Linked DNA regions of Homo sapiens: region 1 is linked to region 2. The links are contacts of gene promoters, found by promoter capture Hi-C in human tissues and cell types (Jung and others, 2019). All regions are on one chromosome and are shown on one strand. The core of a region is centred on a gene start or on the middle of the fragment in contact, and the rest is flanking DNA. Distances in the headings are between cores, read along the strand shown. Region 1 overlaps LOC124903876 (a long non-coding RNA gene). Region 2 holds the start of ASAP3 (ArfGAP with SH3 domain, ankyrin repeat and PH domain 3).

Region 1 (4,789 bases), core at 1,948-4,447, 68 kb after region 2:
TGGCCAGGGTTGCACAGCAAAAGAGGGCATCGAGCCAGTGCTGGGACCCAGGCTCTGACACTTGGGCTAGGAGCTGGAGCCAGGCCTTTCTCCCAAGTCAGGTTTACTAAGAGCTATGCTGCTGCTGTGAGCCAATCACCCTTTCCTGCCTCACTCCACGGAGCGCGATGAGTGGGCGGGAGAGGGGACAGGCGGTTCTTCAGGGCAAGAGGACTTGTTTCAGCCCATTTGGGAAGCAGCCCGGCGTAGCATGGCCTTCTCAAAGTGTGTGTGTCTGCATGCATGTGTGCTCATGCATGCACACATGTGACTGTGTGTGATGTTGGCTGGCTGTCGGGTCTCACAAAGCCATGTGATAAAAATCTGGTACATCTTTCTGAAATGTCCGTTTTACTCAAAAAATACAAATAAAAGAAAGAGAGACATCACAATTTTATATTAAAACACAGAGGGCTATAGAATGTAAGAGAACACAACCTTCACATGGTATGTTAAGATAATGAATGACAACTAGCATTTGGGGGCTGTGGTTATTATTATGTGCCAGGCACTAATCTAAGAATTTTGTATGGTAACTAAGCCTCACAACAACCATCTGTGTAGGGACTGTTAGCAGACACGGAGAAGAGAAGTTAAGTCACTTGTCCAAGTTCACACAGCTAGTATGTGGAAGAGCCTGGGAACACAAAGCATTTCATTAGACAAATCTTAGAACATCTCTATTATCCATTGTTTGTTCAATTAAAAGTTTGTAACAAGGGTCAGGCGCAGTGGCTCATACTCCTGTAATCCCAGCACTTTGGGAGACCAAGGTGGGTGGATCACTTGAGGTCAGGAGTTCAAGACCAGCCTGGACAACATGGAGAAACCCTGTCTCTATTAAAAATACAAAACCCCATCTCTACTAAAAATACAAATCATGGTGATGGGTGCCTGTAATCCCAGCTACTTGGGAGGCTGAGGCAGGAGAATTGCTTGAACCTCAGAGGTGGAGGTTGCAGTGAGCCGAGATCGCGCCACTGCACTTCAGCCTGGACGACAGAGCAAGACACCACCTCAAAAAAAAAAAAAGTTTACAAGGACGGGTGAGGTGGCTCATACCTGTAATCCTAGCACTTTGGGAGGCCAAGGCAAGTGGATTGCTTCAGCCCAGGAGTTAGAGACCAGCCTGGGCAATATGGCAAAACCTTGTCTCCATTAAAAATATAAAAATTAGCCAGGTGTGATGATGGGTACCTGTAGTCCCAGCTACTTGGGAGGCTGAGGTGGGAGGATCACTTGAGCCTGGAAGGCCGAGGTCACAGTGAGTTGTGATCATGCCACTGCATTCTAGCCTGGATGACAGAGAGAGACCCTGTCTCAAATATAAACAATAAAAATAAAACAAAAAATTGTTTAAAAGTTTACAACAAGATTTATACACAAGAATGAGGATAAGAAGTAGCTGGCTCCGGCCAGGCACGGTGGCTCACACCCATAATCCCAGCACTTTGGGAGGCCGAGGCAGGTGGATCACTTGAGGTCAGGAGTTCAAGACCAGCCTGGCCAACATGGTGAAACCCCGTCTCTACTAAAAATACAAAAATTAGCCTGGCATGGTGGTGTCCACCTGTAATCCCAGCTATTCAGGAGGCTGAAGCACAAGAATCGCTGGAACCCAGGAGGCAGAGGTTGCAGCAAGCCGAGATCACACTACCACCCTCCAGCCTGAGTGACAGAAAGAGGCTCTGTCTCAAAAAAAAAAAAAAAAAGGTAGCTGGCTCCCCTTTTGCTTCCTCTTCATGAAATTATAAGGGCTGCCAGTTGGGAGCAGGTACTCTACCTCTGTTGTCTTATTTAATTCCTACAACAACCCTATGGGAGAGGTAGCATTGAAAGTTTACAGATGAAAACCTGAGGCTCAGGGAGGTGGTGTCATGTAGCTGGTCACACAGCTAAGAAGTGGCAGAGAAGGATTTAAATGCAGGTCTGGCTGATCACGAAGCTGCTGCTCTTACCTACACAGTTACACCAACCCTGGCCTCCACGTTCTCTGGCCTCTGGGTTATGTTCTTCCTCCCCACAACTCCTATTCTCTTCAAGAGAGGGTAGTTTCATGAGTGAGCTGGTTCTGGGTCAGGCTGAGCCAGGGGAGGCTCACAACCTCTGAAGCTCTGTCCCTCCAGCAGCCAAAAGCACACTTGTCATGAAATAATTACAAATTCCAAGAATGAGAAAGTAGTAATTAGGCACTGACTGGGAGCTTGAAGATCTGGATTTTTATCCCCAGTTCTGTGAGGGAATCTTTGCCTGAGTCACTTTCCCACTCTGGGACTCAGTTTCTCCATGTGTGAAATGAATCTAGTAATGCTTCTTGAGTGCCTGCCACGTCCTGGCAGGCTTTTAGGTGCTTTACATTCAGTATATCGGCACACAACTGTGGACAGGGTTCTTACAGTATTACAGGGAGGAGACTGAGGCTCAGAGAGGGGAAGGAGCTTGTCCAGGGTGGCAGAGCTTGGGAGTAGATGTGCTGGACCAGAGCTCTGCTTTTAGTCTCTGCACTGTTTATATTTATTCCTCAAGCCACTGGGCTTCGACGCTGATCAGATGCTGCCAGGCTGAGTGAAAGGGCTCTGCATATAGAGCGCCAATGCTGGACAAGAGTCCCGGGGTGCTGTGACTGGGTCATGCCAACCACATTGCCACTCTGGAAAGAAGAAGAAGGAATAAGGCTAGGAATCTGACACCAAGCCCAGCAAACTCTGTGGTGGGGGTCATCTGGAGCCTACCAAGTACCAGATGCTTTACATATGTCATCTAATTTAATCATCAATTCAACCATGTGAGGCTCAGAGACGACAAATAACTTACCTGTGGCCCGGTTCGGTGGTTCAGACCTGTAATCCCAGCACTTTGGGAAGCCAATGTGGGAGAACTGCTTGAGCCCAGGAGTTTCAGACCAGCCTAAGCAACATACAAAAAAAAAAAATTAGCCAGGCATGCTGGCGCACACCTGTAGTCCCAATTACTTAGAAGGCTGAGGTGGAAGGATCACTCGAGCCCGGGAGGTCAGGGCTGCAGTAAGAGCAGCGATCATGTCACTGCAGTCCTGCATGGGTAACAGATTGAGACCCTGTCTCAAAAAAACAAAAAGAAAACAAAAAACTTACCTGTGATAGCACAGCTGGTAAATGACAAAGCTGAAGTTTCAACCAGTGTCTGTATGTTTCCCAGACTCACAGAGAGAACGTAACAGGATTACTGCTGTGGCTGGAAGAGGCCAATTCTGCAGCACCCACCGGTTTGCATGAAGTTTCAAAACAGCTGCAGACATCCAAAGCACTGGGTAAGGAGGCCATCCTGTAGACTGTGGCTCTGACAGTTACTCCAGGGTGACCTTTAGCAGGTCCCCTAACACCTATGAGCCCTGAGGGGGGTGAAATGGAAGCACCCCCCAACCAGTCCACGTTACCACATAGACTGTAAAATGCCGCCCACTAGTGAATGGCCTCTTTTGAAACACTTTCTTGCTGTTCTCTTTGTATATGGAGTTGAACCTGCAGTGGAAAATGTGATTGACAGGGATTAACATCTAGGCCCCTTGGGGCCCACCTGGATGAACCCTCAGTGGAAGCTGGGATCATGAACAATGGATATGGAACCACTGTAAGACCAGGTGGCCCCTGGCCCTGATGAAGAGAGTCAGGGTGTATGTGGGGTGGGGAATGGAGCAATATGGTTGTCTGTCCTGATGGTCCTGAATCTCTCATCTCTTCCCTGCATAACCTACAGTGGCATGTCTTGAAACCCCCTTTTTTTTTTGGAGATGGAATCTCACTCTGTTGCCCAGATGCTCAGCTCACTGTAACCTCTGCCTCCTGGGTTCAAGTGATTCTCCTGCCTCAACCTTCCCTTCCCAGTAGCTGGGATTACAGGCACGTGGCACCATGTCCAGCTAATGTTTGTATTTTTAGTAGAGACGAGGTTTATCATGTTGGCCAGGCTCGTCTTGAACTCCTCCCCTCAGGTGATGTGCCCCCCTTGGCCTCCCAAAGTGCTGGAATTACAGGTGTGAGCCACCGGCCCGGCCTTGAAACCCTTTTTTTGATGCTAGAAATGGCATAGGTATAGGAGGCCGGGCGCGGTGGCTCACGCCTGTAATCCCAGCTCTTTGGGAGGCCGAGGAGGGCGGATCACGAGGTCAGGAGATCGAGACCATCCTGGCTAACATGGCAAAACCCCGTCTCTACTAAAAATACAAAAAAAATAGCCAGGCGTGGTGGTGGGTGCCTGTGGTCTCAGCTACTCGGGAGGCTGAGGCAGGAGAATGGCGTGAACCAGGGAGGCGGAGGTTGCAGTGAGCTGAGATCGCGCCACTGCACTACAGCCTGGGCGACAGTACGAGACTCGGTTAAAAAAAAAAAAAAAGACGAAAAAAAGAAATGGCACAGGCATAGGAAACAAACCAGTATTCAGAAATAACTTGGATCGGTGAGTGGGGAGGTTATTCTGGGGAGTCTGCCGTGCCTTGGGTACCCTCATTGCCACACAAGGCACATTTTTAGCCCCAAAGGGACCAACTGCCAGCTGGCCAGCGACCACCTCAACTCCGGGTAATGAGTTCCATATGTTTCCATAAGAGCCCAGCTAAGCTTTTCCCCAGCAGTTCTTACAGTGTTCTCTCCCTCCCTGCCTCATCTCGATGCTTGGCCACCCTTGTTCTATTTGCTCCTAACGAGGGTGGCAGGGAGGGGGCTAGGTGGGCAATGCCAAGAGACAATGCTTTGGGAAGTCACCCTTCCCTGAC
Region 2 (4,227 bases), core at 651-3,150:
TGAGAGGCCAAGGCGGATAGACTGCCTGAGCTCAGGAGTTCAAGAACAGCCTGACCAACATGGTGAAACCCTGTCTCTACTAAAAATACAAATATTAGCCGGGTGTGGTGGAGCATGCCTGTAATTCCAGCTGCTTGGGAGGCTGAGGAATGAGAATTGCTTGAACCCGGGAGGCAGAGATTGCAGTCAGCTGAGATCGCACCACTGTACTCCAGCCTGGGAGACAGAGCAAGACTCTGTCTCCAAAAAAAAGATGCATGCTTTATATGCATTGTCTCATGTGAGGTACACATTATTACCCCCATTCCACAGATGACAGGACAGGTCACATGCCCACGTTCACCCAAATGGCAAACTGCAGAGCCAGCGTTTGAAAAAAGGTCTGCCTTGGCCGGCGCGGTGGCTCACGCCTGTAATCCCAGCACTTTGGGAGGCCGAGACGGGCGGATCATGAGGTCAGGAGATCGAGACCATCCTGGCTAACACGGTGAAACCCCGTCTCTACTAAAAATACAAAAAAAAAATTAGCCAGGCGTAGTGGCGGGAGCCTGTAGTCCCAGCTACTCGGGAGGCTGAGGCAGGAGAATGGTGTGAACCTGGGAGGCGGAGTTTGCATTGAGCCAAGATCGCGTCACTGCACTCCAGCCTGGGCGACACAGCGAGACTCCGTCTCAAAAAAAAAAAAGGAAAGAAAAAAGGTCTGCCTTCCCCAAAGTCGATGCTCCTTCCACAATCCTCTATCACCCTTACAAAGTGATACAAACAGACTCCGAGATGGAGGGTCACCCTGACAAGAGAGAAGAGGACAGATTTCCTGACACTGGCGCAGGGTGTTATGAACTACTGAGCTTTGTATCTGCCACGCAGTGGGTGCCTAGTACACTTAAGGTGAAGGGTGGAAGGCTAGAGCCGTTGCTGAGGTCCAAAATGCCACCCAAATTGAGGGCATCCTTTGGATGGGGAGCTGCAAAAACACATTATTCTCCGTTGGACCAAGGCCACGGGGTGTCTGTCCTAGAATATTCTTTGCAGAGGAGCTGCGGAAAGCTGCAGCAGGTTCAGAGAAGAGGAATGGAAGGAACTCCGAAGAGCATGGGAATGGGGTGGGGCAGCCTGCAAGACCGAAAGAAAAGGCCTGGGACGCTTTGCTGGGAAAGACAAAGAGGAGAGGGGAGGGGAGAGGAGACGATAAACTTGCCAACAGCCCGGCCAAGGTGAACCCCGGCTCCTGGCGCCTTCCCATCCGCATTCATTCCACAAACGCGGGCCAAATCTCCGAACCAGCCGCAAGCGGGAGGGGGCCTCTCTGCAGCCGGGGGGAAGAAAGTTCAGGACTGAGGCGGGAAGCCTGCCTCTCAGAAGGGGAGTGACTCGGGGGGCACACTTGTGGGGCTCCGAAGATGAAAACGCAAACTGAGGCTGGAAGGCGCTAGGCAAACACATATGTGATGAGGCGGTCACGCGGGGCACTTGGGGTACGTCCCCCGACCTGTGGAGTTTGTCATCGAAGAGACCTCGAGGCCCCCCAAAACGGTCCCTCGGGCCTTCCCCCGCCTCGACGGTGAGGACGCAGCTGTTGGAGATGCGCTCGGTCCTCCCAGACCTAGGGAGGGGGCAGGTTTCGGGGCGCGGTGAAGGGCCATCGCAGCTCGGGTGCGACACGCCTGTGGAGGTCAAGGCCAGGCCCGGCGCCGACCCCCGACCCCTCCCGCCTCGGCCCCCTCACCTCCTCCCGCGCCAGCGCCGCCCCTCGGTACCGGGGCATCTTGGCGGCGAAGGCGGCGGCCCCAGCCGGGGAGCTGAGGTCCTCCGCGGTGACGGCCAGGAACTCGGCGACGCTGAACTGCTCCGGCATGGCGGGCGCGAGCGTGGAGCTGCCGGAGCGGGGCGCGGGGGGCACTGAGCTGCTCCGCGCTGAGCCGGCCTCACCGCCGGCCGGGGGCGCCGTCCCGGCCTCCACACGCCCCGCCCCTCCGCACGCCCCGCCCCCGACCCTCCAGCCGCTCTCCGCTCCTCAGCTGGGACGGCCCCGCCCCCGGCTCCTCGCCTTCCTCCACCGCCAAGGTCCAGGCTCCGGCCCCGGTCCCGGCCCCGCACCGCGTCAGGCCGCTTCCCCGGCCCCTCGCCGGCCCCCTAGGCCACGCCCCCAGCCCCTCACCGCCTCAGACCCCGCCCCCTGGCGCGATGCCCCACCCCTGGCCTCAGTAGAAACTCCTCCGCCTTCCCCCATCCCTGCCCCTTCAGGGCTCTGTCCCGTTTCATCCCGCTCTGGGTCTTCCAAATCCTCCTCCCTTGCACGGCCCAGGCTGTTCCATCTCCGCGTCGAGTCTTAGAGCCCCCTCCCTCTTCCTCCCTCCTCTGCTGATTCGTTCCGAGTTCCCCATGACCTCGCCCCTTCTGCCCTACCACCCCCCCGCCACCCTTCCCTCCTCTCTCCCCAGTCCCGCCCAATCTCCTTGCCTCGCTCCGCCCCGAATCGCCCCACCCCTCCTTTGCTGCGTACGCCCAGCTCTCAGCCTCAGCTTTGCAGGCATCCGGAGACTCCCTCCTGATAACCCCCGCCGCCCCGGGGATGTGTGGATCGGGGCCCCTGGCTAGCTGTGTGACTTGGGGAAAATTACTTCTCTTCTGGAACCTCAGTTTCCTTATCTGTACAATGGGAAGCCTGATGCCCGCTTGATTGTGATGTTGCGAAGAACCGAACACGTGCGTGTACTAGTTCCCTCTTACCCGACCATAGATCGCACCCACGCCTTTACTCTTCCTGCTCCTGCCTTTCACCCCTTAATCTGGCTCACCATCCTTTGGGGCGGATGAGGGATGGGGTTCAGGATAGAAATCCACTTAGGTTTAGTTCTGAAGCCTGAGGTCCTCTGGGGAAAAGTTCTCCAAGTAAAAAGCTAGGAAAGCACCGCAGCAAGGAACATTGGTTTTGGAGTCAGAGGAACCTAGATTCCAATCTTGGTTACTTTGGATAAATTGCTTGCTTCTCTAAGCCTGCATTTCCCCCTCTTAAAATGGCCTCATGGTATTTTACCCCACAGGGCGGCGATTGAGAGAATCTTTTCTTTTCTCGCACAGAAAAGAAAAGAAAAGAAAAAATCCGGAAAGATATGCACTAAAATGTTGCACCAGCAACATTTTATGCACTAGCTGAAGACAGATATGCACTAGCTGAAGACATTATGAGTAACTTTCTTTTCTTTTGGTGAATCTGTATATCCTAACTTTTATACAATGACCATATACTACTGTGTAATAGAATTAAAAGTTGACGGGAGCGATGGCTCATGCCTGTAATCTTAGCACTTTGGGAAGCCGAGGTGAGCGGATTGTTCAGGAGTTCAAGGCCAACCTGAGCAACATGGCGAAACCTTGTCTCTACAAAATATACAAAAATTAGCCCGGCGTGGTGGCTCTTGCCTGTAGTCCCAGCTACTTGGTGGGCTGAGGCAGGAAAATGGCTTAAACCTGGGAGGTCAAGTTTGCAGTGAGCTGAGATCCTGCCATTGCACTCCAGCCTGGGTGACAAAGTGAGACCCTGTCTCAAAAAAAAAAAAAAAGAAAAAGAAAAAGAAAAGAAAGAAAAAAGAATTAAAAGTTGAAAAAAATGTGTACCATCTGATAGAGACGACAACTATTCCAAGAGTTCTTTCAAGGTCAACTTCTCCTGTTGAAACCAAATAGGCACTTTTCTTGTTATTTATTTTTAGAGACAAGGTCTCACTCTGTCGCCCAGGCTGAAGTGCAGTGCAATGATCATAGCTCAAGGCAGCCTCAAACTCCTGAGCTTAGGCACTTTTCTTGCTTGACTTTTAGGAGCATCTGACAATGTTAACCACTCCCTTCTCCTTGAAACACCCTTGCCCCTGAATCCTAGGAGAACTATTTTCTTTGGTGGCCCTCTCCCTCTGGCTGTTCCAAGAGCCCTTTCTGAGATGCACTTCCTCCGCAGGGATCTTAAATGCTGGAGTTGTTGGGAGCTCTCTGCTAAATCCTCTGCATGTCTCACTCTATCAGCCTTCCTGGATTTCTTCATCCAATCCCAACGGTAATGTTGATGTCTTCTGTACTAGTTTCCTGTTGCTACTATAACAAATCACCAATAACTTCCCTCAGCCTCCCGAGTAGCTGGGATTACAGGCACGTGCCACCACACCCAGCTAATTTTTGTATTTTTTAGTAGAGACGGGGTTTCGCCGTGTTGGCCAGGCTGGTCTTGAACTT

What was found. Contacts are between HindIII fragments. The study calls those that stand out against the background at their distance.
Region 1: a contact is called between a fragment that was not itself captured here and the fragment with the promoter of ASAP3 in region 2, in 4 of the 25 tissues and cell types used here (IMR-90 fibroblasts, aorta, lymphoblastoid cells and 1 more).

What each region holds. Positions count from the first base shown.
Region 1 is chr1:23,548,768-23,553,556 of GRCh38, forward strand. It overlaps LOC124903876 (a long non-coding RNA gene), which reads left to right. Exons shown (of 3, transcript XR_007065537.1): 2 at 3,217-3,328. LOC105376859 (a long non-coding RNA gene) reads right to left here. Exons shown (of 5, transcript NR_188656.1): 2 at 3,153-3,306; 3 at 2,854-2,946; 4 at 1,998-2,689; 5 at 1-676. Among named protein-coding and RNA genes, the nearest start is that of ID3, 8.3 kb to the right of the region's middle. RefSeq lists an enhancer at 126-676. The HindIII fragment of the contact is 7,566 bases long and covers 1-4,789 here.
Region 2 is chr1:23,482,279-23,486,505 of GRCh38, forward strand. ASAP3 (ArfGAP with SH3 domain, ankyrin repeat and PH domain 3) reads right to left here and starts at 1,901. Exons shown (of 25, transcript NM_017707.4): 1 at 1,727-1,901. The coding sequence starts at 1,855. RefSeq lists silencers at 1,736-2,185, 2,306-2,415, 2,426-2,475 and an enhancer at 2,666-2,765. The HindIII fragment of the contact is 29,915 bases long and covers 1-4,227 here.